Regions from separate parts of the Homo sapiens genome. Here regions 1, 2, 3, 4 and 5 are each linked to region 6. Evidence: promoter capture Hi-C in 16 types of primary human blood cells and fetal thymus (Javierre and others, 2016). All regions are on one chromosome and are shown on one strand. Each heading gives the region's core, a stretch centred on a gene start or on the middle of the fragment in contact. The rest is flanking DNA. Distances are from core to core; before and after follow the strand shown. Region 1 overlaps MYCBP2 (MYC binding protein 2). Region 2 has its middle 48 kb from the start of SCEL. Region 3 has its middle 27 kb from the start of SCEL. Region 4 overlaps MYCBP2 (MYC binding protein 2). Region 5 has its middle 66 kb from the start of SCEL. Region 6 holds the start of MYCBP2 (MYC binding protein 2).

Evidence for each region. Contacts are between HindIII fragments. The CHiCAGO score rates a contact against its expected background, and 5 or more counts as called.
Region 1: a contact is called between a fragment that was not itself captured here and the fragment with the promoter of MYCBP2 in region 6, in 1 of 17 cell types (activated CD4 T cells). The highest score is 5.0, in activated CD4 T cells.
Region 2: a fragment that was not itself captured here is called in contact with the fragment with the promoter of MYCBP2 in region 6 in 2 of 17 cell types (total B cells and naive B cells); the score reaches 6.4 in total B cells.
Region 3: a contact is called between a fragment that was not itself captured here and the fragment with the promoter of MYCBP2 in region 6, in 3 of 17 cell types (naive B cells, total B cells and M1 macrophages). The highest score is 7.7, in naive B cells.
Region 4: a contact is called between a fragment that was not itself captured here and the fragment with the promoter of MYCBP2 in region 6, in 7 of 17 cell types (activated CD4 T cells, total B cells, non-activated CD4 T cells and 4 more). The highest score is 7.9, in activated CD4 T cells.
Region 5: a fragment that was not itself captured here is called in contact with the fragment with the promoter of MYCBP2 in region 6 in 16 of 17 cell types (naive B cells, total B cells, naive CD4 T cells and 13 more); the score reaches 29.7 in naive B cells.

Annotation. Positions count from the first base shown.
Region 1 is chr13:77,165,287-77,169,320 of GRCh38, reverse strand. MYCBP2 (MYC binding protein 2) reads left to right here. Exons shown (of 83, transcript NM_015057.5): 40 at 675-893; 41 at 2,767-2,992; 42 at 3,930-4,034. Among named protein-coding and RNA genes, the nearest start is that of MYCBP2-AS2, 86 kb to the right of the region's middle. The HindIII fragment of the contact is 5,173 bases long and covers 1-3,988 here.
Region 2 is chr13:77,485,761-77,490,074 of GRCh38, reverse strand. No RefSeq gene overlaps it. Among named protein-coding and RNA genes, the nearest start is that of SCEL, 48 kb to the left of the region's middle. The HindIII fragment of the contact is 9,502 bases long and covers 1-4,314 here.
Region 3 is chr13:77,506,444-77,510,646 of GRCh38, reverse strand. No RefSeq gene overlaps it. Among named protein-coding and RNA genes, the nearest start is that of SCEL, 27 kb to the left of the region's middle. The HindIII fragment of the contact is 8,598 bases long and covers 1-4,203 here.
Region 4 is chr13:77,149,109-77,153,021 of GRCh38, reverse strand. It overlaps MYCBP2 (MYC binding protein 2), which reads left to right. Exons shown (of 83, transcript NM_015057.5): 47 at 2,073-2,288. Among named protein-coding and RNA genes, the nearest start is that of MYCBP2-AS2, 70 kb to the right of the region's middle. The HindIII fragment of the contact is 3,453 bases long and covers 664-3,913 here.
Region 5 is chr13:77,468,041-77,472,256 of GRCh38, reverse strand. No RefSeq gene overlaps it. Among named protein-coding and RNA genes, the nearest start is that of SCEL, 66 kb to the left of the region's middle. The HindIII fragment of the contact is 5,096 bases long and covers 1-4,216 here.
Region 6 is chr13:77,325,608-77,329,359 of GRCh38, reverse strand. MYCBP2 (MYC binding protein 2) reads left to right here and starts at 2,266. Exons shown (of 83, transcript NM_015057.5): 1 at 2,266-2,886. The coding sequence starts at 2,585. LOC127898562 reads left to right here and starts at 2,372. Exons shown (of 1, transcript NM_001414702.1): 1 at 2,372-2,455. The coding sequence starts at 2,372. The coding sequence ends at 2,455. It overlaps LOC107984564 (a long non-coding RNA gene), which reads right to left and starts at 2,315. Exons shown (of 2, transcript XR_001749930.2): 1 at 2,225-2,315; 2 at 1,162-2,096. RefSeq lists an enhancer at 1,787-2,116 and silencers at 2,307-2,686, 2,727-2,846. The HindIII fragment of the contact is 13,146 bases long and covers 1,062-3,752 here.

The sequences.
Region 1 (4,034 bases), core at 153-2,652, 160 kb after region 6:
GGGTTCACGCCATTCTCCTGCCTCAGCCTCCCGAGTTGCTGGGACTACAGGCGCCCGCCACTGCGCCCGGCTAATTTTTTGTATTTTTAGTAGAGACGGGGTTTCACCGTGGTCTCGATCTCCTGACCTCGTGATCCGCCCGCCTCGCCCTCCCAAAGTGCTGGGATTACAGGCGTGAGCCACCGCGCCCGGCCTGTTGGCTTTACATTTGAAGAATCTGTGAATGGGAAATAGATTTTAGCAATTTTAGGAATATGATATGTAAGGAAAGATTATGTTAACTGAGGTTTTTCACATTTATGAGGTTGATGCCAAATGGTCTTCATTAATAACAATAGCAATGTTAAAGGATAAGAGTGTTTTAAAATAGTGACATATTCAAGAGATGGAAGAAATGATAAACTATTGATTCTTTGGCATAATTAAGTAAAACCTGATTTACTTCAGATCATGAAAAAACAAGTTTTTAAAAATATAGATTTAGATATTGTCATGTAACATCTAAGATAAATCTTTTTTTAATCAATTGAAAGATTTCTCTTTGGACAAAAACTTAACTAGTGGAAAATTTAGATGGAAATTGTTATTAGAGTAACCAACAATTATTGTAATGCATAATTTTAGAACCACTTTCACGTGTATCTCATTTAACCATATTTTTATATGTGTACTAGGTGGCTGTAGAAGTCTTTGGCCTTGTCCAACAATTGCTTCCGTCAGTTGCCATTTTGAATCAGAAGTATGCACCGCCTGCCTTCAACCCTAATCAGTCGACAGATAGCACCACAGGAAACCAGCCTGAACAGGGCCTCTCTGCTTGTACAACCTCCAGTCACTATGCTGTCATAGAGAGTGAGCACCCGTATAAACCTGCCTGTGTGATGCATTACAAGGTAGGCACCGGTTCTTAGTGTGATTCGAATGTAAAACTTGGCATGAGGTTCTCTGATGATATCTTAAAGAATGCCTGGCCTGTATTTACAAGTGTATTTTCTTTTATAGTATTTACATATAGAGAATCAGCAGGTGATTAGGCACTGTTGGATATATAAAATAATTTAAGATGGAATTTTTATCTCAAAGATGATAAAATTTTATTGGTTTATGAGAGTTGTTCTTAAATCTTCCTACAAGTATAGTGTGGTATATAATGCTAAACTTCATGCTGTGATTTGCAATAGTAGTAGATATAAGCATTAACAATTTTAAATTGTATTTTTTGAACTAACATTATTTGTACCACAGCCTGAGCTCTGAAAATTTACAACCCCAATGTAAGATTTAAAGTAGTCTATACATAATGTTAAAAAAACTATGTATAAAATGTTTATAAATTTAATGTTATTAGAGAGTATTCAAAATCCGTATTCTTTGTTTTTTCATTGTATCATGCAAATTAAGGAAGAGAAGGATAAACTTGTATTTTGTGTGCTTGTAAAATATTCCACTTTTCATGGTAGAAACTATTAAGCATATAGAAGTAAACAAGCTAGTACAGTGCACTTGTTTATCCATCATCCCAGATTCAGCAGTTTCAACTGTTAGTCAGACCTGTCTTATTTATTCCCAACCTACTTCCTAACCTCCTATATTGTTTTAAAGCACATTTATGATATTTATTGATACAATGTCTCCAAAATATAAAGACCCTTAAATATAACCATAGTATTATCACATTGAAGAAAACAATTTAATGTCTGCAAACATCATGTAAATTTTTAATAATTTGAGTTAGAATCCATATAAAATCCATATATTGTGATTAGTATGTCTCTTAAGTCCCCTTTAATCTTAAGTCCCTTTAAATCTATAAGTCTCCCTCTGTCTCTCTCTCTTTTTGTTCCCTTGAGTTCTATTTGTTGAAGAAACTGGATCCTATGTATTTGTTAGATGGGAGCCTCTTCAGCTTACCTGCTGGTTCTTTCAGACACCCCTCTTGCAGTCATTCCTAGCTTCCTTGCTTTCTGGTAGGATAAGATGTTCCAGGCTCCCTTTATATGTTTGATGCCTCAGACTTGGAACTAACCATTTTTTCAAAGTGTCCTGATTTCTGTTATACATACACACACATGTTATATTTATATATGTATATACATAAATGTATATATGTTTATGTACAGATAGATTTATGTGTATAGTTTTTTAAAGATAAAATACCTCATGAGTTTATACTGTTGATACTAATTCAAACAAGGACCACAGACACACCTCAGTCTCCTTTCTCTTATATCTAAAATTCCTATTAGTGACACTGGGAATATCAGAATTAGAAAATCATTAAATTATTTCATTTGGTGTGTGTGTGTGTGTGTGTGTGTGTGTGTGTGTGTGTGTGTGTGTGTGTATGTGTGTGTTTTGTCTTTGAAGTATATCCCATCTAAGTGTATGTCAAATTACTGTGTTTAAAGTAAGTTGGAATGCTCCCTCTGCATGATTATGCATTCATTGGATATACACTTAGAGAGTCATTTATTTTATCTTAGATTTTAGGAATTGCTTTTTAAATTTGGATTTTGTTTTATAATTCTTTACATAATTACATACTTTGAAGTCAAATTTATGAAACAAATCTAGCTTTTATCTCTGTCCTCTTTACTCTGTTCCTCCTTCTCTGTCATAGGTAACATTTTATTCTATTTTAATTTTGTACTTTATCCTGTTGTGTCATTTAATAAAAGCATAGACACACACACACATACAGATGCAGATGTGTATGTTTGTGTATATATATATCTGTATTCATGTCACTTTGCCTGTTGACCTCAGGTGACATTCCCAGAATGTGTGAGGTGGATGACAATCGAATTTGACCCTCAGTGTGGTACTGCACAGTCAGAAGATGTCCTTCGTTTGTTGATTCCTGTCAGAACTGTTCAGAATTCAGGATATGGACCAAAATTGACATCTGTTCATGAAAATCTTAATTCATGGATAGAATTAAAGAAATTTTCAGGATCCTCTGGGTGGCCTACTATGGTTTTGGTGTTGCCAGGTAAGTTTTTTTTTTCTTCTGTTTTATGTGGTAAAATAAGTGCATTTATGTATATTTAGTAAGGGTGTATCATTGAAAATGTTTATCTAATTTTTAGAGAAATTTATTAAAGACCTACTATGTATCTGGATTGCATTCGAGGAATAAATAAGGTACCCTGGGCAAGGGGCACAGCCTGATCTGAGTTTTGGAGAAGACAATGTTTTAAGGATTTTGTGAAAAAAAGATTAGCTTGAGCAAAGCAGAGTGTTAACGTTGAGGAGTAGCTAGCTGTCTGTGTAGTTGGGTCCAAATTATAGAAAACAATGGATTAGATCTTTTATTTTCCCAGGAAGTGCTAAATTTTCAGAACTTACCTAAGGACTGAAGTCCTTCATTGTAAGAGAATTCGTAAACCACTTTCTTGTGTGAAGAGAAACTATGTTTTAAAACTTATGGTTTGTTGCATTCTTAACCAGTTAACCAGGACTACTCTTGTGATCCTTCAAACTAATAGGCAATTTCATTTCAGAAACTTCTTCTTTCCACTCTGACCTGCCTATTTGTTTGTTTGTTTGGGAAAAGATCAGAAAAAGCCACACTCCAGGGTAGAGGATTGCCCACTTTGAAAAATAAAAAGGCTAACCTCAGTATTTGACAAATAATTGAAAAATGATTGCCCATGTAACTGAAGTACTTTATTAAGCAGGGGAGTTTGATTATGAAAAAAAGTAACAATTCATTTGCGATAGACCTGTTGTTTCTAGTGTTATTTTTGGTACAGTTTCCTCAAGTAGATATAGGAACGCTCCCCGCCGCAAGTCTATTTAAGTTATGTAGTATATGATTTGTGTTTTTACCTATCTTGTGATAAAAGAGAAAGTCCATTGGATAAAAGACAGGGAAATTTTTATAAAATTGTTTTAGAGTTTGAACTCAATTCTGGCATTTTTATTAGGAAATGAGGCCCTTTTTTCATTGGAGACTGCATCAGATTATGTGAAAGATGACAAAGCTTCTTTCTATGGTTTTAAGTGTTTTGCAATTGGATATGAATTTAGCC
Region 2 (4,314 bases), core at 694-3,193, 160 kb before region 6:
GAACCAAATATGGTTGCCGCCTCCACCCCCAAATGTTGTCCAAATATATTCTGGGTGGTGTGTGCTTCCTTGTGTCCCAGTTTCTCATAGTCTCGAGAGAAGATGGATCTGATTGGCAGAGCCCAGCCCCATGCCTTAACAGCAAGAACCCTGGAGAGGTGAGTAGCTGGATGGCATCAGAGGGAGAGCATTTCCCAAACATAGAGAGTGGGTTCTGATACCTGGATGGCAAAAAAGAAATTGGTAAATCTCCATCATACTGGCTTTATGAGAAATGATAAGGTCTGTGAATACAGACAGCCCCAGTTTCAATTTGTGCACTTTCTTCACTTTCTATTTGACATTGGGCAAGTTCATCTCTCCGAGCTTTGTTTTTTCTCGTAAGTAAAAACCTTCCCTTGCAGAAATTAAAAAGTAAGTTATGTGGATAAGATAATTCAAAAAGTGAAAGCTATTACTTGAAAAGATAATTGAGATATATATAATATTTTGTGAGGCCTCATCTTGGTAAAATATTCAACTTTTCATATATTTATGCCTATTCTCCCTAACTAGAGGATCATGTTTTATACTAGTTTGTATGTTTTATACTAGTTTGTATTTCCGCAGAGCAGTAAACACACAGATACATACGTGTGCACTTAATAAATGAACTAATATCCCAGATTATAAAATAAAATGAGAAATAGCGAACACTGATGCAAAAAACTGAAGAGGATACAAAAAAATGGAAAGCTATTCCATATTCATGGATTGGAAGAATTAATATTGTTAAAATGTTTATACCACCCAAAGCAATCTACAGATTGAATGTCATCTCCATCAGAATATCGATGACATTCTTCACAGAAACAGAAAAAAAAAATCCTAACCATTTACATAGAACCACAAAAGACCCAGAATAACCAAAGCTATCCTGAGAAAAAACAACAAAATGAAAGGAATCACATTACCTGACTTCACAAATTACACTACAGAGCTATAGTAATCAATACATCATGATACTGGCATAAAAACAGACACATAGACTAATGAAACAGAATAGAGAATCCATAAATAAATCTATACATCTACAGTGAACTAGTTTTTGACAGAGGTGCCAAGAATGTATATATTGGGGAAAGGACAATCTCTTCAATAAGTGGTACTTGGAAAACTGGATATCCATATGCAGAAGAATGAAACTAGACCCATATGTCTTGCCATACACAAAAATAAAATCAAAACGGATTAAAGACTTAAATATAAGACTTCAAACTATGAAACTACTAAAAGAAAACTATTGAGAAACTCTCCAGGACATTGGTCTGGGCAAAGATTTCTTGAGTAATATCCCACAAGCACAAGCAACCAAAGCAAAAATGGACAAATGAAATCACATGAAGTTTAAAAACCTCTACACTGCAAAGAAAACAATCAACAAAGTGAAGAGACAACCCACAGAATGGGAGAAAATATTTGCAAACTATCCATTAATCTCTTGTCAATACTTTACAAGAACCCCATTCTGTGGGGTTCTGTGGGGTGTTGTTGACTACAGTCAACAATAATTTATTGTACATTTAAAAATAACTAAAAGTAATGGATTGCTTGTAACATGAAGAAATGATAAATTCTTGAGGTGATGGATACCCCATTTACTCTGATGTGATTATTATGCATTTTATGTCTCTGTATCAAAATATCTCATGTACCCCATAAATATAATATACCTACTATGTACCCACAAAAATTTAAAAAAAAATCATTTTAATGAGCGACAGCAATGCTTCATTCTATAGCAGTGAATCAAAGAATATATGGATATAGGGTATGTTCCACAGCAAGTCTGAAGTGGATTTCTAGGGGGCCTCCATTGATGACTCCTTTTATGGACTGATGCTTGTGTGTCCCCAAACTTTACATGTTGAAACCTAATCTCCAGTGTGACGGTATTTGGAGATGGGGCCTTTAGAGGGTGATTAGGTCATGAGAGATAGTCTTTGTAAATGATATTAGTGCCATTAAAAGGTACTGAGGTATAGTGCTGAACACCAGGTATTCTGCAGAGGCACAATAAAATTTTAAAGAGTTTATTTGAGCAAACTGATTTGTGAATCAGGAGCTCCAAACCATGAGTGGTTTGGGGGCTTCTTTGGAGAAGCATTAAAGACAGACTTTTAGAGAGTGAATACAGATGTAAAACAATTTGGTTATAGTTATACAGTTGCCTTACTATTTTGTCTATCTTGTTGGAAAGTCCCTAGTTATATAGTTATATAACTATAATTTAGTTGGCAGCTTCTGATTGGTTAGCCTTAAGTTTCATTTCTGTTTAATATAGGCATTTATAAGAAATAGCTCAAGTTAACTTTTGGCTATATTTGCAAATCAAGCCGGGTTAAGGTCAGTTACGAAGGCTAACTGGCTTTGTCTGCTCAGGGGTTCTGCAGGCCTGGCTTTCTGTTTTAATTTATTTTAACAGCGCCCTTATTAAAGGGACCCAGAGAGACCCCTTACCCTTTTCACCATGGGAATACAGCACGAAGACAGTCATCTACGAACGAGGAAGCAGACTCTCACTAGACACTAAATCTGCCAGTGCCTTGACCTTGGACTTCCCAGCCTCCAGAACTGTGAGAAATACATTTCTGTTGTTTATGAGCCACCAGTCTAATGCAGTTTGTATAGCAACCTAAAAGAACTGAGACAACTACAAAATGACAGATGTCTTATTCTGCATCACACTGGGCTCTAAAAGACCACCAAGTGTGAATAACCCCAACTGTACATCACTATTATAAACCACTCAATAAAAAGTTTCAACTATCTGAACTAAGTCAACCCAAGGAAAAACAAATGGCAGTATCTGCAAATAATTAGTAACAAGAGTAGTATGTTTCTTGTACGCATAAAAAATTATGCCACTAAGACTAGCTTTGAGTTAATAGTAATGCACTAAGAAATATTTTAAAGTATATATAATTTTCTATTTACTCATTCACAATAATGAGGAATGCATCCACTAGATGATTAACTTCCTAAAGTATAAATCTGATCATTTCCCTATCTTCTTCAAATTCTCCACTGATTCTCAAAATAGACCCCTAGACCTATGAGAATGGAGATTATACATGAAACACAGGTAAATGAAACCTGATTTAAATATTTTTAAATTTATTTTACACTTAATCAGTGATTAAATGTAAATATGTGAAATATTTACAGTGAAAATAGTGGTTTTTTCCGACTGTCACTAACAAATATTAAAGATTCTATCCTCAACGGAAAAAACGAAAAATGGCCTCCTAGTTCTCCTACTACAGTATGACCTTGGCAAGTCACTTGACATCTCCAAGTTCAGTTCCTACATTGCAAAATGAAGAAATTGGACAACATCCTTTCCAGCTCTGAAAGGTTGTCATCTCTACTTTGCCAATGTCCACTGGCTCCATGCTCCACGCCACCCAAAGTGGGCTCCATTTCCATTTGCCTTGATCAATCAAGGTAATCAGCCACAGGAGATAAAACATAAATTGTAAAGTTGCCAATTCTGAGTCATATAAGCAAAAATAATCTAGTTACTCAGCATTTCCATAATGCTTTATTATATTTTTCAAACAATGTCTGGCCATCAATCAACACAAACCATAGTCATAAACCATAAAAGAAGACACAGAGACCAATGAAATTAATGTTGACAAAACTCACCCAACAGGTCAAAAGCAGAGAAAATTACATGTTAACATTATGAGTGAATGATCATACTGTGTGAGCCACACGCATTTCTGGTACAGAGTTGTATAACATAACACTCAGGTAACAGAAGGACATCACAATCTGGATTGGACCTTACTTGTGGGGTCCTCTTCTCCTCTCTACCCCACTCACACTGGCTTACTTGGAGCTGGGAGGATGTCTACCTGACAGCCACGAACCACTATACTGACCCTCCCATTTATCCCTCTTTTTTACAGTTAAATAGTTCATTCACCCTCCCCTGAGCATTTGTTATGCCTGCCAATGTTTCACATCACCTCAAATCAATAATTGAATGCCCCCCACCCCCCCGCCCCAGCCATCTCCTCTACTGCCATTGCCTATATGGCCTCAGCTCTTCTTTGTTCTGCTCCAGGCACACAACCTCTCTTCCCTATCACACATGGTGGATGCCTCACAGCATCCTCCCTCCCTCCTCTGTTCCTCCTTAGACTCTGCCACCCATCATGTATCTGCCAGCTCCATCTCTGTCACTACTCGCTCCTCCAGCCCTAGTGGCCCCCATCATGGCTCAGCCTTCCCCAAACGTGGTGCTTTATCTTACTATGTGGGACT
Region 3 (4,203 bases), core at 1,369-3,868, 180 kb before region 6:
CATTATTTCCTCTATGAATACCTTTGGCAACACTTTTCTCTAAAAAGAAACTCTTAATATACCTTTCATGTCATCTGAAATTGCATTTATACCTTAGTAACAGAGTGAAAGTAGCAGTGACTTAAACTAGACAGAAATGCATTTCTACACCCAACTTGAGGGAGAGTCAATCCAGGGTTCTGCTCAGTAATCAGTGTCCAGGGTCCTTCTATCTTTGTTCCCTGACATCCTTTGTACATGACTTCCATGCTTAAGATCACATCATGCTTCAGGGTGTCTGCTAGAGCTACAGCCAACACATCCGCATTCCACAACCACATCACGTCCACATTCCAGCTAGCAAGCCCCAGTCATTTCTCCCCAAGCTAAGGGAACTTTTCCCCAAATTCAACCCAAAAACTTTCATTTGCATATTATTAGCCAGAATTTAGTCCATGGTCACACGCAGCTACAAGAGAGGATAGAAAAATGGGGCCTTCAGCTGGATATTTTGCCACCTGGTATAGAATCGGGTTTCTGCTATAAGAAAGAGAAGAAGAATTAATACTGGGTGGGCAATTATCAGTCTATGAACACCTCCCATTGTGATATTCACCATTATTTTATACATCTTCCATTATGTCACATTTTCTTTGTTTTCATGTCAATATGGCAAACTACAGGATAAATTTTTAGATATGAAATGTCTATATTCATGTCTAGTCCCCTGATGCTAGCTCAGGCCAGTCACATGGTAATTGCTCGTGTAAGGTTGAGGAAATTAAGTGAACTGATAGGCAGCCATTCGAGATATTCCAAATGAGTACAATTTACATTCCACACAAGTATCATTCAATCATGGAAGACTTTGAGAACTGACTTCTCAAAGTTTAATTTGGTTATAAAATCTGAGTTAATTTTGGCAGTGACAAAATTCCCTGATGATTATAGGTCATAGAATGTAGAAGATATCATACAACAGAAGGTTTTAACAGAAAAATATAATTCTTTTCCTTAGCCTCAATGACTCTGCCCTCTTTTGTCTCTAAATGCTGAGAGTTCCTTCATTTCAATGTTAAAACATTTAATGTTAAGTGATTTCTAACCTCATGTAACCAATCTATAAGGAAGTGGGTTCAGGAACAATTTAAATGGCATTCTCAACAATGAGCAGCATAATAGGAAACAGGAAGCAAAGATGTCAGATTTCTAAGTGATGTTTCATCTTCTCAAGCATATGATTCTTGGCAGAACCCAACCGATCTTCAGAAACGAGAAAAAGGTCAATCTTTCTATGTGAAAGCACTTAACTGGAAAAGAATTTTCATCCACAGGAAGAAAAAACCTTCTGTAGTTGTGCTTTTACTATGTGTCAGGCAAGTTGCCAGATACTAGAGGCAGAATGGCATAAAAGAAAGAAAAGACCCTTAATTTTATGGAATCTTTAGCCTCATAGAGTTCTTCCAGCTAGTAAGTAGTAGAGTATGTTTTCAAAGATTGTCTGCCTTTAAAACCCACGCACTTCACTTGATCTTAGCCAAAAGGCCAGGAAGCAATAACTCACTCACTTGACCACTGTATTTTTGGATTAAGAATTAGTCCTTCTTATACATTTCTATCTTAAATTTTGGGTCTACAACCACATGAGAGCTTAAAATCCTAAACCGTTACATTCAGTACTTATGATTTCCATTGAAAAATGAAATTGGTGGTAATGGTAATTGAACTGGAATAACTTTTTTAAGTAAAACAGAATGTTCATTGATATTTTCTCTCGTTTTAAAGGCTCACTTCACTGAGTTCTATATAAATAAGTTACCAAAATTTTGGAGTTCTCAGATTGCTCTATGATCATCTCAACATAGCAAGCAACACTCAACTGCAAAGCAATCATTTGGATATTCTTTTTCTACTTGACAGCAAAAATTCATATTCAATTTTTTTCCCTAAGTTACCCAGAAAAGTTGGCACTGTGGGCAGCCTCAGCACAGTTGCCAGACATACTGGGGAAAAAAAATTACCCGAAAGAAAAGGTGGGGCTTCAGAAGTAAAACAAAAGCCATGCCAAGAAAGATAAACACACACCCTCCTTTGAAGATTATTGCCAAGTGTCTTTAAAATCATGCCAAAGAAAGCATCCCATCCAGGTTTACTTCATCTCAATCTCTCCTGTTCTAACTCTAAATAAGCAGGCTGTCACTTGCAGCTCAACAATTCTACCTTGAGCTTTAAAAAGGTATTAAAGAACTTATTGCCTGAAATCAGAGCACTGTTTTTACTGTGTTGCCTGATTCTTATCTGATGGAGAACAGTCAAGAATGGAATATAAGGCGTCTGGTCACATATTTGAGACCACAAAAGATCAGGGTGGGACAACCTCACAGTACATCATGTGTTCCCCAGATGGTCCATTGAGTACCTTCTTCTTTGAGAAAAAAACAAAAGCATCCCTTACTGGTTGTCACACGTACATTCTCTAATTAATAATAGGTCTATCACTATGGGAAGTTGTCCAGCCTGAAATGTGAGATCATCAAACCCTAGAAAAGCCATAAAAATATCATTTCGCTATGTATACCCGGCATTCTGCCAAAAGAAATTGTAAGTGCCTCTGAATCACTGCTCCAGAGCACCAGCCCACAGTGACCACAAAGCATATGCAGTCTCACCTAGAATGATCAGCAAGATAATAATTCTCCCTGGTAATAACACTTGCTGTGGTTGCAAGCCCTGATCATTGTTCTCTTTTTTAAAACTAGGGGAGAGACAAATGCTCATGAGTAACTGTAAATGTGACAAAGGATGATGTCTCCAGGTCAAAAATGGACTACGTAGTCCATTTTTTATGCATTTCCCCCTTCTTAAAAATTACTATGAGTTACGCCTGTAATCCCAGCACTTTGGGAGGCCGAGGCGGGCGGATCACGAGGTCAGGAGATCGAGACCACCCCGGCTAAAACGGTGAAACCCCGTCTCTACTAAAAATACAAAAAATTAGCCGGGCGTAGTGGCGGGCGCCTGTAGTCCCAGCTACTTGGGAGGCTGAGGCAGGAGAATGGCGTGAACCCGGGAGGCGGAGCTTGCAGTGAGCCGAGATTGCGCCACTGCACTCCAGCCTGGGCGACAGAGCGAGACTCCGTCTCAAAAAAAAAAAAAAAAAAAAAAAAATTACTATGAGTTATTGCATAACAAAGTAAATTAAGTGATTATATTAAGTCATTTTAGTTAAAAATTGTTCCAACTTGAGCCTAATGCCTGCCTATGATTATAGTTTGTAGCCCTATTAAATTCAGGACCACCCCCCGCCAAGCCAAAAAAAATTTTTTAAAAAAATAAGAACTAGGCAGAAGACATGGAAACAAACACAATCACAATCATCTGCTTGGTTCTGAAATCTGAGTATGACCAAGAAGAGGTGTTTAGCGGTATTGGTGGGATCGCGGAGTACAGGGGATTCAGGACTTTATGTCCTAAAAAGGAGCAGTAGTACCCAAGTTCTAAAAGGGACAATAAGAATGAATCTAATCAATTTCTTTTTAATGAATAAATTAATTGAATTGGACATCTCCATATAAAATACCCATGCACTTTTCACTTTGGGGCACTAGAGGGAAACAAAGTAAGAAAAATAATGAAGCCTTGTGTATCAAGCTGCTAAAAGAATACTTTTTTTTTCCATGTTCATGAACTCTTCTGTTACTTTTGGTGGGAAATGGTATTCACATGGTAGCCTAGTTTAAAAAAATACCATTTTGGATTTGATCTCACAATACTTCAAGCCCACTTACCAGGAACAAACCTACAGCCAGAACCTCAAAAGGTCCATTATCTTTGGTTAAGTCAGAAAAAAAAAAAAAAGTGAAGCAGTAAGTCAGCTTTGAGAAGGATGCAGGTGACAGAAGCCTATTATTTAAGGCTTAATTAAATTCTTTTTAGGAAATTACTTTCCCAATTACATGTAAGAACACATTTTTCAATGTTATGAGGGTGGGAAGAGGGAGAGGTTCAGAAAACAAACAAACAAAAAGCAGTTGGGTACTATGATTAGTAACGGGTGACAAAATAATCTGTACACCAAACCCTCAAGTAATGAGTTTACACATATAACAGACCTGCACATGTACCCCAGAACCTAAAAGTTAAAATATAAAAAAAAGAGCAGGAGGCAGCAATCCACTTCTGACTTTAGCTTCCTTTTTAAAGTGCACCAATAGGAATGTCACT
Region 4 (3,913 bases), core at 1,141-3,640, 180 kb after region 6:
ACGATTTCAGCTCACTGCAAGCTCCGCTTCCTGGGTTCACTCCATTCTCCTGCCTCAGCCTCCCGAGTAGCTGAGACTACAGGCACCCGCCACCACGCCTGGCTAATTTTTTGTATTTTTAGTAGAGACGGGGTTTCACCGTGTTAGCCAGGATGGTCTCGATCTCCTGACCTTGTGATTCGCCCGCCTCAGACTCCAAAAGTGCTGGGATTACAGGCGTGAGCCACCGCGCCCAGCCACGGCGGATTTTATCAAACGGTGGAAGTGGCTCTCAGCAGAAGGGGAGCTAGAAAGGGCATGGTGTGAGAAGAAGGTGATATTTCCCTGAAGCCCAGCCGTCTCCAGCCATGCTCCTCTCCTAAGTGGTGCCATCTGAGGTTAAGCCGCGCGTCTCATCAGTTGCTGCTTCTCCTCTTGGTATTCGCCACTTGTCTCTTTGCTAGCTGAAGTCTGGGATTTATAGGGGCATAGGGTAGGGGGGCAGGGCTGGCCAAAAAGGCAACATTTAGGCGGAATACAAGGATAAACTGTTCTCATTTAGGGTCATGGTTTCCAGGCTTGAGAGTGGGGCCTTTGCCAGGGAACCACCTTCTCCTATCCAGTATATCCCTGACTCCTGTCTGTATCATCTTCAGATTTTTTAATTGTTTAAAGTTTAAAGCTTTTTATGCTGGCACATGTGTTTGAGTTGAAATTTTAACCATATACCTGTAAACTGCCATTTTTTAAATATAAGAATGGGTTTTTAATATTTCCAGGGGTTTGTGTCAGTCCAAATACTGATCTCTTGTAACCTCACCTGAAGATAGTGGTCACTTAATGGAACATATTTGTCACCTGTGCCTAACATTATATAAATAGCGAAAGTCTCAAACTACTGATTCCATAGAATCGCGTTGTTAAGAACAATAAACATAAAGACAGTCTGTAGTTCTGAGGTAGCTCTCAATTACTTAAAAATACTATCACTTTTATCTCTGCACTTTTTCTATTTCTGTGACAATTCTGTTGAATTACCTGTTCTTGCCAACCACAAAACTATTGTCTGTAGGGAGCAGCAGAAACTTTGAGTAAAGCTCAGAATGGTGATACCTGCTGAAGAACTAAAGTGGTATTCAAATTGTGTGTACATTTGTGGTTGCCTAGGGGTCAAGTGTTTTTCTGCCAATGCATAAACAAATAAAAACAATGTTTTCTTATAATTTCTGGGAAATATTTCTAAAAAGTATTTTTCAGAAATAGTAGTTAGTAGATGAAATAGTAGAGTTAGTAGATCAAAGATAGTCCCGTTTTGTTGAAGAAATTGAGTTGCAAAGTTATAATTCCTGGAAAATATATCTAAAAGGTATTTTTATAAGACAATTTGTATTTTCAGTATATTAACATCCATTAACGAATCTGTTTTTTGCATCTATACTGTAGAGTTAGTGGACGAAAGATAGTCCCATTTTATTCTTAAAGAAAGTGAGTTGCAAAGTTTAATTATTTAATAGATTGCTTAAATCAAATGTTGATGTTGGTGATAGGGCTGTCTAATAATATTCTTTCTTCACCCGAGTAAAGAAACATATTTGGGCTTTAGGTATAAGATTTGTTTTATTAAGTGTTAATTTTTGAAACTTCTATAAATAGAGTACATTTTCTTCTGTAGAACAGTGCAGCTCAAACTGACATTAGTGCTTTAAAATGTGCTGAGATTGTGGGAAAGCATTTACACTTGCATTACCTGATAAAATAATTTGTTAGTCCCTGCAATAACTTAATGTAGATTCATTCCACTATCTTTTCCTGTACTTTATTAGTGGTGCATTTGTTTTTATGTTTTGATATCTCTGATTATGTATTCCAAAACTATGAGGCCTTGTTTTTACACCGTGTTCATGGTTCATATTGTCAACCCATCTTGAGGTCATTTGAACTCTTTTCAATAAGCCTTTGAAGGGAATGCCAGAGACAGACCAATGCTAACATAAAGTATACATAATTATGAGTTTATAATAGTAAGTTGCTTATTTTGATGTCAGTGACAATTAAATAATAATGGTATTTGGTTTCTATAATACCATGTTTAGGTGGAAGTGAAAGCTGTCCCTGTTTCTCAGAAAAAAATGTCTTTACAACAAGATCAAGCAAAGAAACCTCAAAGGATTCCTGGCAGTCCTGCAGTAACAGCTGCATCTTCTAATACTGACATGACTTATGGAGGGCTGGCATCACCAAAGCTAGATGTTTCATATGAACCAATGATAGTGAAGGAAGCTCGATATATTGCCATAACAATGATGAAGGTAATTTATTTTACTTATCAGAAAAATTTTAGTTTTCAGCATTTGTTTATTTAACCAACATTTCAGTGATTCAGATGCAGACATGAAATTGTAAGTCCAAAGAGCATTTGATGGATATTAAATTTGCAGCAACACTTATTAAGATGATGTTATCCTGTCTTCAGAGAGGATTTTCATTGGTTTTTGGCAGATGTCCAGAGGGGATCACCAATTACAGATCAAGTTAATCGAATCAGAGATACAGATGGATTAGGCTGAGTTTCAGTTCCTGTGAAAGTACTTGTCTACTTCTGACCAGGAACAGTGGCCCACACCTATAATCCCAGGGCTTTGGGAGGCCAAGGAGGGAACATCACTTGAGGCCAAGAGTTCGAGACCAGCCTCAGTAATGTAGTGAGACCCCATCTCTACAAAAAAATAAAAATAAAATAAAATTTCTAAGTACTTGTCTATTTGCAGTTTACTATTCTTGCTAGAATGTATCTCTTCAGGGTTTTGGGGTTTACCTATGCCCCCTTCAATTTTGGGTTCTCTCAAATGCCAGATGTATCTCCTAGAACTCTTTGGGATTTTTAGCTCTCTAATACCTTTAGACATTTAAAAAATATATATTTTGGATGTTTTAGTTATCTTCAGAGGCAATGTTAATCCGAATTATCAAGGTAGTCATTATTTGAAGCTGAAGTTTGTAATTTTGGCATTTTCAGAGAGCAGTGGTGAGCCATTGAAGGCTTTTGGGTAGAGGAATGGCTTGATTAGATTTGTGTTTTGTAACGATTGTGGTGGAATATGGACAGTGTAATTGGGCAGATGATCAAGAAACATGACTTGGTTTTAGTCTCTTTAGGGGACTATTGACTTAATTTGGTGAGATATGCTGATCAGTTGGACTAGTGAGTTGTCAATGAGGATAGATTCAATAGAATCAGTAGAACCTGGTAGCTAGTGGAGGTGGAGTAAAGAAGAAAGGTAGGAAATAAAAGATGAAATTCACATATTGAGCTTGTGTCCAATTGATAATGGAAGAGGGGCAGGTTTTGGTTGAGAAAGATAGCAGATTCAGTTTTGGATGAGGTGAGTTTTAGATACTTCTGAAATACCTACGTGAAGATGTATAAAACAAAGTTAGATGTACAGACCTGAGTGATCACAGTCTGACCTCAAGAAAAGGATTCAGGAATCATTAGCACTTACATTACTTATGAAGTCATGGGAATAGATGATACCTTCTATGGTGAATGAAGACAGAAGTTCCAGGATAGGATCCTAAGAAACACCAATATCACTGAGTCTCAGACTCTTCTCTACATCAGAAGCATCTGGAGCACTTACTTAAAAAAAAAAAAAGATTTCCAAGCACCCAGAGATTTAGATTCAGTGGGTTTGGAGAGAGGTTCAGGAATTTACCTGAAACAAATATGCAGTGATTCAAATTCAAAACCTAAACTTTGAGAAATACTGATTTACAAGGTAGATAAGAGAAAAAGAAAGGAAAAGGAAAAACGATTCACATTGGTAAGAATACTAGCCAAAGAAGCAACACATAATTAAGGGAATGGCTGAAGTGAGTGTAGATAAGCCTTTCAAGATGTTTGACTATAGAAAGAACCAGAGGAAATGGAATT
Region 5 (4,216 bases), core at 740-3,239, 140 kb before region 6:
AGTAGTTGGTCTGTCCCAGCTAATACACCAGTCTGAGAAAACCAATGTTATTCTGAAGCTCTTCATGATTCAAGCTGGAAGGGAAAAACCAAGTGGCTGAGAATTTGTGTGAATGTAGAAACCTGCTGGTTTCTCCTCATCACTCGTCCACGAAATGCCAGACTAAAGAGAGATAGCTGTGGCGGAGATACTGTGAATATTCAATTTGAAACACATTCAGTGAGCACAAACTCTGTGCCAGAAACCAACATGGAGAGTGTTCCTCTAGTCAGTCACTACTGAGGGTGATCAACTGCTCTTAACAAACGAGTAGAGACCCAGAAAAAAATACAACTTAATAAGACAACTAACTAAAGGGCTGAGTAGGAAGAAACAACCCAGGTATAAAGGAATGGGGGAGAAAGAGGCAGGGACATGAGAAGAAGGAGAAGGAGGTATAGAATGCAGGTAGGTAGCAAGGCTTGGAGAGATTCTTTAAGGCAATCTGGAGGTTTTGCAAGGGACCTTCAGGTCCTGCCCAGGAACAAAGAGGAAATAGTAGAAAGCACCAATCTTGGATCCAGCAGCATTTAATCATTAATTATCTAATCATTTAAGTATTTCATTCCCTCAGCCTCAGATCTCTCTTAAAAGAGCTAGGTTATTCCTGGTTTTGCATAGACAGTTTGCATTATAGTCTCCTAAACTGGAAACAAGCTAAAAGACTGGTCAGGGAAGTAGTTTCCCATTCTTTCCCAGGCGATGCTCCATAGTTATGCCACAAGTTACTACCTGAGTGTCTGATCAAAGTCTTAAGGGGTTTGTCACCGTTATAACTAAGCAATAGCAACCTCTGAGTCCCTTTTTTTTTTTTTTTTTTTGTCATAGTTAAGCACAGACCATCATGCAGTACCTTGGATTTCTATACAGTACTCTTGGTATGATATGAAAAAAAAATTCTGCCCTAAATTTTGTTATTCTCTGGATTTGGCTGCCACTGAGCCAGGTTGAGCAATCTATTTCTCTGAAGGAAACACCCATTATTCTGGGAAAATTTAGGCACATTCCTTCCTAGAAGAGAAAGGAAAGACTAAGTGGCCTTTGGCAGAATTTGGAGACCTAATTGTCTAAGAAAATGACATTTCACAATGGTGAAATGCCGTGGCAGTGAAAATTTTGATTTAACATCGCTCACGGTCTCCAAAAGATTCACAGTCTCCTTCCACATATATCACCCAACCCTGAGACCTCAGTTTGCTAATAGTCTCACTTACAGAGCTAGGGAAATTGCTTTGTCCGAAGCATCCTAGAGACTACCGCAGGCCTAGAACTGATGCTTTTATCAAGGGATAAATAGACAGACTAGAATCCTACTTTTCTCTTTTTTGAGTCACAGGGCCTTGAGCAGGTAAGGGGACTGTGACCTCTGGATCTCTATCTATAACGTTGCAGTAGGGTAGCTAGACAAGTCTCTTTTCTCCTTCACCCTTTTGACTAATTTCATCCTATCCAGTAGGTGAAGACAGATTGTTTGTATCCTCATCCTCAACTGAGGGGGTCTTTTAGCATAATATTGAGATCTTTCCTGATCAAAGGTGTTTGGGAATTCAGGAGCATTCTGACTTTTAGAATAATATGGTGGAAAATCACATGGGATGTCATACAGGGCCTGGGTAGCACCTATAATCAAACACTAATATTAACATTTTCAGTTAAATCTACAAATAGTCCCACATCAGGTTGGGTCCAATACTATCGCCAATGAAGTTAAAAAAACAAAGTCTTTGAGTTTTCAGAGGAGTTTGGATTTGGGAATTGCCCGCAAAGAATTGAGGAGCTCTTTACCCCTCTGCCCCCTGCTCCATAGTGGCCAGCTTTCTTCAGAGGTGGCTACAGAAGAGCTCACTTTCACCATGTGAAAAAGCACCTGACATTCACTCAGGCTGACCCAAAGGGAAGTCAAACCACTCACAAGGAAACAACTGACCCTTGATGGACTCCAGTCACATGACCGTTCCACCATGAAATTCATTCTCACCGAAATAACCACCTCCTGCGAACTCTCCATTTTGCAACAGATTTGGGAATAAAATAAAATTAAGGAATCTTGCCCAAAGCCAAGGTCACTACTGCCCAAGGTATATTTAACAATAAAAGTTCAGCCTTTCCAATCCCTGCCCCTGCCCCAACTCATGACTTACAGGACTTCTCTGCTTATTACTTTCCTGAAACTTCCATATGAGTGTGTGCTTATGTTGTATATGCCTTCTTCTTTAACCTCAACACAATGTTAAAAATACTTATTAAAAATTACTTACTTACTATTCTTTGTAAGAATTATTTTAATCATTTTATGTATGAAAAATTAAGCATTTATGAAAATTTATCTCAAAACTCACGTAATAACAGATTAATCATAAAAAGGGGATCAAGGCTGGGCGCAGTAGCTCACGCCTGTAATCCCAGCACTTTGGGAGGCTGAGGCAGGCGGATCACAAGGTTAGGAGGCAGGCAGATCACATGGTTAGGAGATCAAAACCATCCTGGCTAACACGGTGAAACCCTGTCTCTACTAAAAATACAAAAAGTTAGCCGAGCATGGTGGTGCATGCCTGTAGTCCCAGCTACTCAGGAGACTGAGGCAGAAGAATCCCTTGAACCCGGGAAGCGGAGGTTGCAGTGAGCCGAGATCGCGCTGCTGTACTCCAGCCTGGGTGACAGAGTGAGACTCTATCTCAAAAAAAAAAAAAAAAAGGTGAGGAGATCAAAAAGGGAAAAAAATTAAGGTGCTCTATAGTCTATCAGCGTATGTGTAGGTGCGTCAAGCCGTGTCTTTTACCATCATCTTTTACCATCTTTTCTTTCTTTTCTCTCCTATCTTTTACTATCATCTTGGGAAGAAAAAAAACTGTTTTAAAATAAATCTCATGCAAATTTTTGAATGAGAATCTGAATTTTAAAACACTTGACAGACGATTGTGACTTTTCTTTTAAAAAGTAGAAAAATTATTCTCACTTCAGTAGTATTGGCTTGAAATTTTGACACATAAAGGTATTCATGATTATTTTTATAACAGAAAATGGAAAAATAAAAAAACTTTTGAGACACTATCAATCTATTTTATGCACCATAAAAAGCAAAAAAAAGAGTAAGGTTTCATTAAATATTTATAAATGGACAAGAAGTATATTATAAATCAAAGGGATTCGCTTTAGCAAATAAGAAAATATTTTATAAGTATCTTAAAGTTAATGCCCAAATGTATATTTTAAAATATATTTAGTAATAAAAAGCCATGCTAATATTGCACCTTTAATGTAAACCATCATGTAGACAATCTTCCAAATGGCAGTTTTCAAAGATTGGAACATAATTTTTCTTCATCTACCTTCTATATTTGTAATTGTAAAACAAATCCAAGATGTAATTAGCTGTAACTCTATTTTATCTGAATTCAAAGACACAAGATGTTTCTCAAAGCCAGTGGCCTACCAAGAGCGAGATCTTAATAGAAGCAAAAACGAGTTGGTAACATTTTATTCCACATTAAAATACCAGAAACACAGAACTCTGGGGAACTGAAATTATTTCCCTCTTAAATTAGGAAAAGGAATAAATATGAAGATGTAGTTGAAGTCATTTTAAACTCTTTCTGTTCTTTTTAAATTTAGTATTATACTTGTGGTGAAATATGTGTAACATATATAATTTGCCATTTTAACCATTTGTAAGTGTGTGGTTTTGTGGCTTTTAGTACATTCATCACCACTATCCACCATCCCAAAACTTTGGGAAGAACTTTTTCATCTTTCCAAACTGCAACTCTGTAGCCTTTAAACAATAACTCCCCATTCCCCACTCCCCAAACCCATGGCCACCTCCATTCTACTTTCTATCTCTATGAATTTCACTATTCTAGGTACCTCAAATCAATGAAATTATATAGTATTTGTCCTTTTGTGTCTGGTTTCACATTGCATGCCTTCAAGTTTCATTCATGTTGTAGCATTTCAACATGTGTCAGAATTTCCTTCCTTTTAAGGCTGAAAAATATTTCATCTTATGGATATAACACATTTTGTTTATTCATTGATCTGGCTGTGGACACTTGGGTTGCTTCCGCTTTTTGGCTGTTATGAATCATGCTGCTTAAACTTTCTTTAATAAAACCTTTTCTTATATAACATTGGCCAGAAAAAATTCTCAGCATTATTATAACTGACACCGTTTGCCTTG
Region 6 (3,752 bases), core at 1,017-3,516:
AACGCTGCCAACCGCAACAGAAATGCCACTCTCGGATACCTAAGTGAGCATGTGTGCGACTCTGCGCACGCCTAGTTGCGCAGCTCAATGACATCGGGCTTCTTAGCAAGTTATCCAGTTTCCGGGTTTTGAGTGTACCCATCAGGCTCCGTAGGGGCCTGTCTGGGACTGAACAGCAGTAAAGATTGAAGCGAAATTAATGAATGGTGGGAAGAGCCCGGAGACCAGGGCAGCCACGCGGGTCAATGTCCACTAGAAACTCTAAATGGGCAGTGACTGCACATTCCACCACCTGAGCCTGCGCTGTAAATGTTTTCTGTGCAAGCAACATTCATTCATTCAGCCAACATCTATTTCCCTCCTGTTCAGGGCTAGACCCTGTGCTAGGAGCCTGTGATGGTTGAACAGACACCATTGCTACCCTACGGAAAACCTAGTGTTTTGTTTAGTATGTGCTACCATTTGTGAAAATTCATGTGCCAAGTTGGACATCCTAGATCCTTTAAGTCCTCCCTCAATCTCATGTAGTGGGTATTCTTTTGAGCATTATTCAGAGGAGATAATTTGCCCAAAGCCAGACAAGTATTAAGTAGCAGAGTCAGGATCCAATTCCAGGGCTGTCTGATTTCAGAGCCTTTTAGCTACCCTGCTAGGTCTTGCAATAGTAATGGGCCCTCTCATTGCTTACCTGTCAGGCCTTAGAATTCTTAGAATTTAGCTGCCTCTACACCATTGTCTTGGTTCTCACTCCAGGGTTAGGGGCTGCCTGGTCAACACTGAGGTCTTTAACTGTGCTGAAGCATTAGGATAGAAATTTAGTCTAATAAATACTTACTGGATACCTACTACATGCAAAGTCCTGAAGTGGCTGAAGGAGACACAAAAGCAGCAAGCTCTGAAGGAACTTAGGTAAGGAAACAAGACAAATACAAAAACTTAACAGGGCTAATTACAGTACTAAAATACTATGATTCCACATGTCTTGTCCTTTGTTCCTATGTTTATCCCACTGCTAATTATCTTTAAAAAAACTAAATGAAATCCATCCATTATTTAAAGCTTCAGAAAAAAATGCATTGCTTTCAGCAACCTTCCACCCTAAAACTAGAATTAATTTACTTTCCTATTCCTTGTTGTTTGCACTTCTCAAACACTAAGGAGGATTTTTTAACATTTATTTTATTTTTTTTTAAGAGAAGGCCATCCGAAGAAGAGGCACAGATATAAGAACTAGTACATAGATGAAAGATACAGTACTGGGATGACAGAACTTATAAATTATTTTGTCAGGACTGTAAATTAGGAAACTCTTCAAATTGAGAGTCAAAGGATAAAACGTAGTAGGAATCAAAGTGCATTGGCACGTATATTTCTAGAGCATATACTTAGATGGGGTTCGTAGGTTAGCTTGGAACAAAGGACTGAGCAAATGTTACTTTTTTATAGACAACAACAAGATATGTGATGGATCTGACATTTTCAGACGCTATACAGTCTCCGTCACAATTATTGTTTCAGATCGCATTCAAGAATTATCTTTAAAAATGTAAGTTTGGGCAGAAAAAAATAAACCATTAAATGACCACTGCCAAGAGATAAAAGTGCACTCTTAGGTGAGTGAGGAGTCAATAAAAAAGAGTAATTTAAAAAATATTATTGCTCCGTTGAGAACAAGAATTTGGGAATGACTCTGGCTTGTGAATACTAGCCTATCTGTTATACTTTCACACACAAAATACTTTCACACACAAAAAAGAATGTGCTAGATTACTACCTGTCTTTGTAAGTAAAAGCTGTGTTAAACAAGCGTAAATCCTAATGACAAAAACCATATAAAATAAGATCGCTAAAGGCACTTCTAATTGGGATGGTTTTCTCTGCCTTAAACTCTGAATTAACCAGCACAATTCACAGTAAATCTTCCTGTTGGCAGCAGAGCCTTGGAGAAGAGGTAGCAGAAGAGCGTGCCACTCCTCCTCTGGCGATGGGCACGTTCCCCCTTGCTTTCTGGTCCTCGTTCTTCCACCTGGAGGGAACCTGAAGTCGAACGTCAGTAGCTGACAGCCTCCCCAGCACTTTCCTTACTCTTCTTCAAGCTGCCAGTAAAACCCGGAGAAGTGGACTACTTCAGATTCCGCACAACCCAACAGCCCCAAACCCAAAGCCCCGAGGCGGAGGGAGTGGTGGCGGAGAGGGGGTGGGGAGGAAAAGGGGCGGCAGTTACTGAGCATGTGCGAGGAGTGGCGCATGCTCTGTGAGGCCGGCAGCTTCCCATTGCGGGTAGCCCCGGCGGTGGTGGCGGTGGTAGCGGTGGTGGCGGCGGCAGTGGCGGCACCGCCTCCTCCTCACATTCCCGGGGTGGCGGGGTTAGATGAGCGGCCCCAGTAGCGGCGAGGGCGGCGCGGGGGGGAGGAGGAGAAGAAGGAGGAGGAGAAGGAGGTCGCTGTCTTTGTAGTCTCCCTGCTGCGGGAGCCAGAGGCCGCCGCCGGAGCCGTCGTCGTTGGAAAAGGGCTGTGTGTGCGCGCGCGTGTCTGCCCGCCCGGCCCGCGGGGACGAGGCGGCGGCGGCGGCGGCGGCGGCGAGGATGATGATGTGCGCAGCGACTGCCTCCCCCGCCGCCGCCTCCTCGGGGCTCGGCGGGGACGGATTCTACCCAGCCGCCACCTTCTCTTCCTCCCCGGCGCCGGGGGCGCTGTTCATGCCGGTTCCCGACGGCTCCGTGGCTGCTGCGGGGCTGGGGCTGGGGCTACCCGCCGCGGACTCCCGGGGTCACTACCAGCTGCTGCTGTCAGGCCGGGCCCTGGCCGACCGCTACCGGAGGATTTATACCGCTGCGCTCAATGACAGGGACCAGGGGGGCGGCAGCGCTGGACACCCAGCCTCCAGGTGCGTCCCCAGGGTGCCCTTCCTTGCGCCCCATGCCGCCCTTCCTTGCGCCCCATGCCGCGCGTGCACCCGCGTGTGTGTGTGCTTGCGTGTGTGTACCTGCGCATTTATTGAGCTTTCAGTCCGCTCTGGATGTCTGTTGGCAGGAGCACTTATCGAGATAGGAGGGTGCGGTGGCTGCAGTTTCTCGTGTGTGTGTGTGTGTGTGTGTGTGTGTGTGTGTGTGTGTGTGTCTGCCTGCCTATGTGGGGGGATAGTGAGGGGTGGTAGGGGAACCTGTGATGCTGGAAAAGGCGATGGTGCTGGTCGGCTGTGACACGTGTGTGTATCGTTGAGGTAGGAGGTGGCATGGGTAGAGAGGGTAAGAGGATGATACACGAAGAGAATTGCAACAGTGGCAAGGGAAGTGGCGTTTTCAGTGTCTCTGCCGCAATGTTATTTGCACGTGCCGCCTCTCCCATGACATTCCTTCCAGCCCTTTCCACCTCCCTTCAATCTGCCTTTCACCAAGAGGAGTCATGGTATAGATTGGTTGAGTTTTGGATAAGCAGGCCCGAGGGATAGGCGTGAGGTTTGCTTTAAAAAGATTTATGAATAAGGGACGCAGATGGAGATCTGTGTGGATGCGAAAGGTGTCTGATAGAGATTTTTAGAGCTGTACTTTGATAACCGGGCCTTTTGGTCTTCTAGAAATGAGGTTGCAGTTACTCTTGTGATCTGATGTCCCATCGGCCATTTCTCTTCATCCTCTGTTCGATTTCCTCTGTTACTTACAGGCTTTAGAGTAGAGAGGGTTTTGTAGGGAAAAGGGGAAAACTGCAGAACTTCAGAATATGACAGCTGGTACAGCGTTCAACTGCCACTAG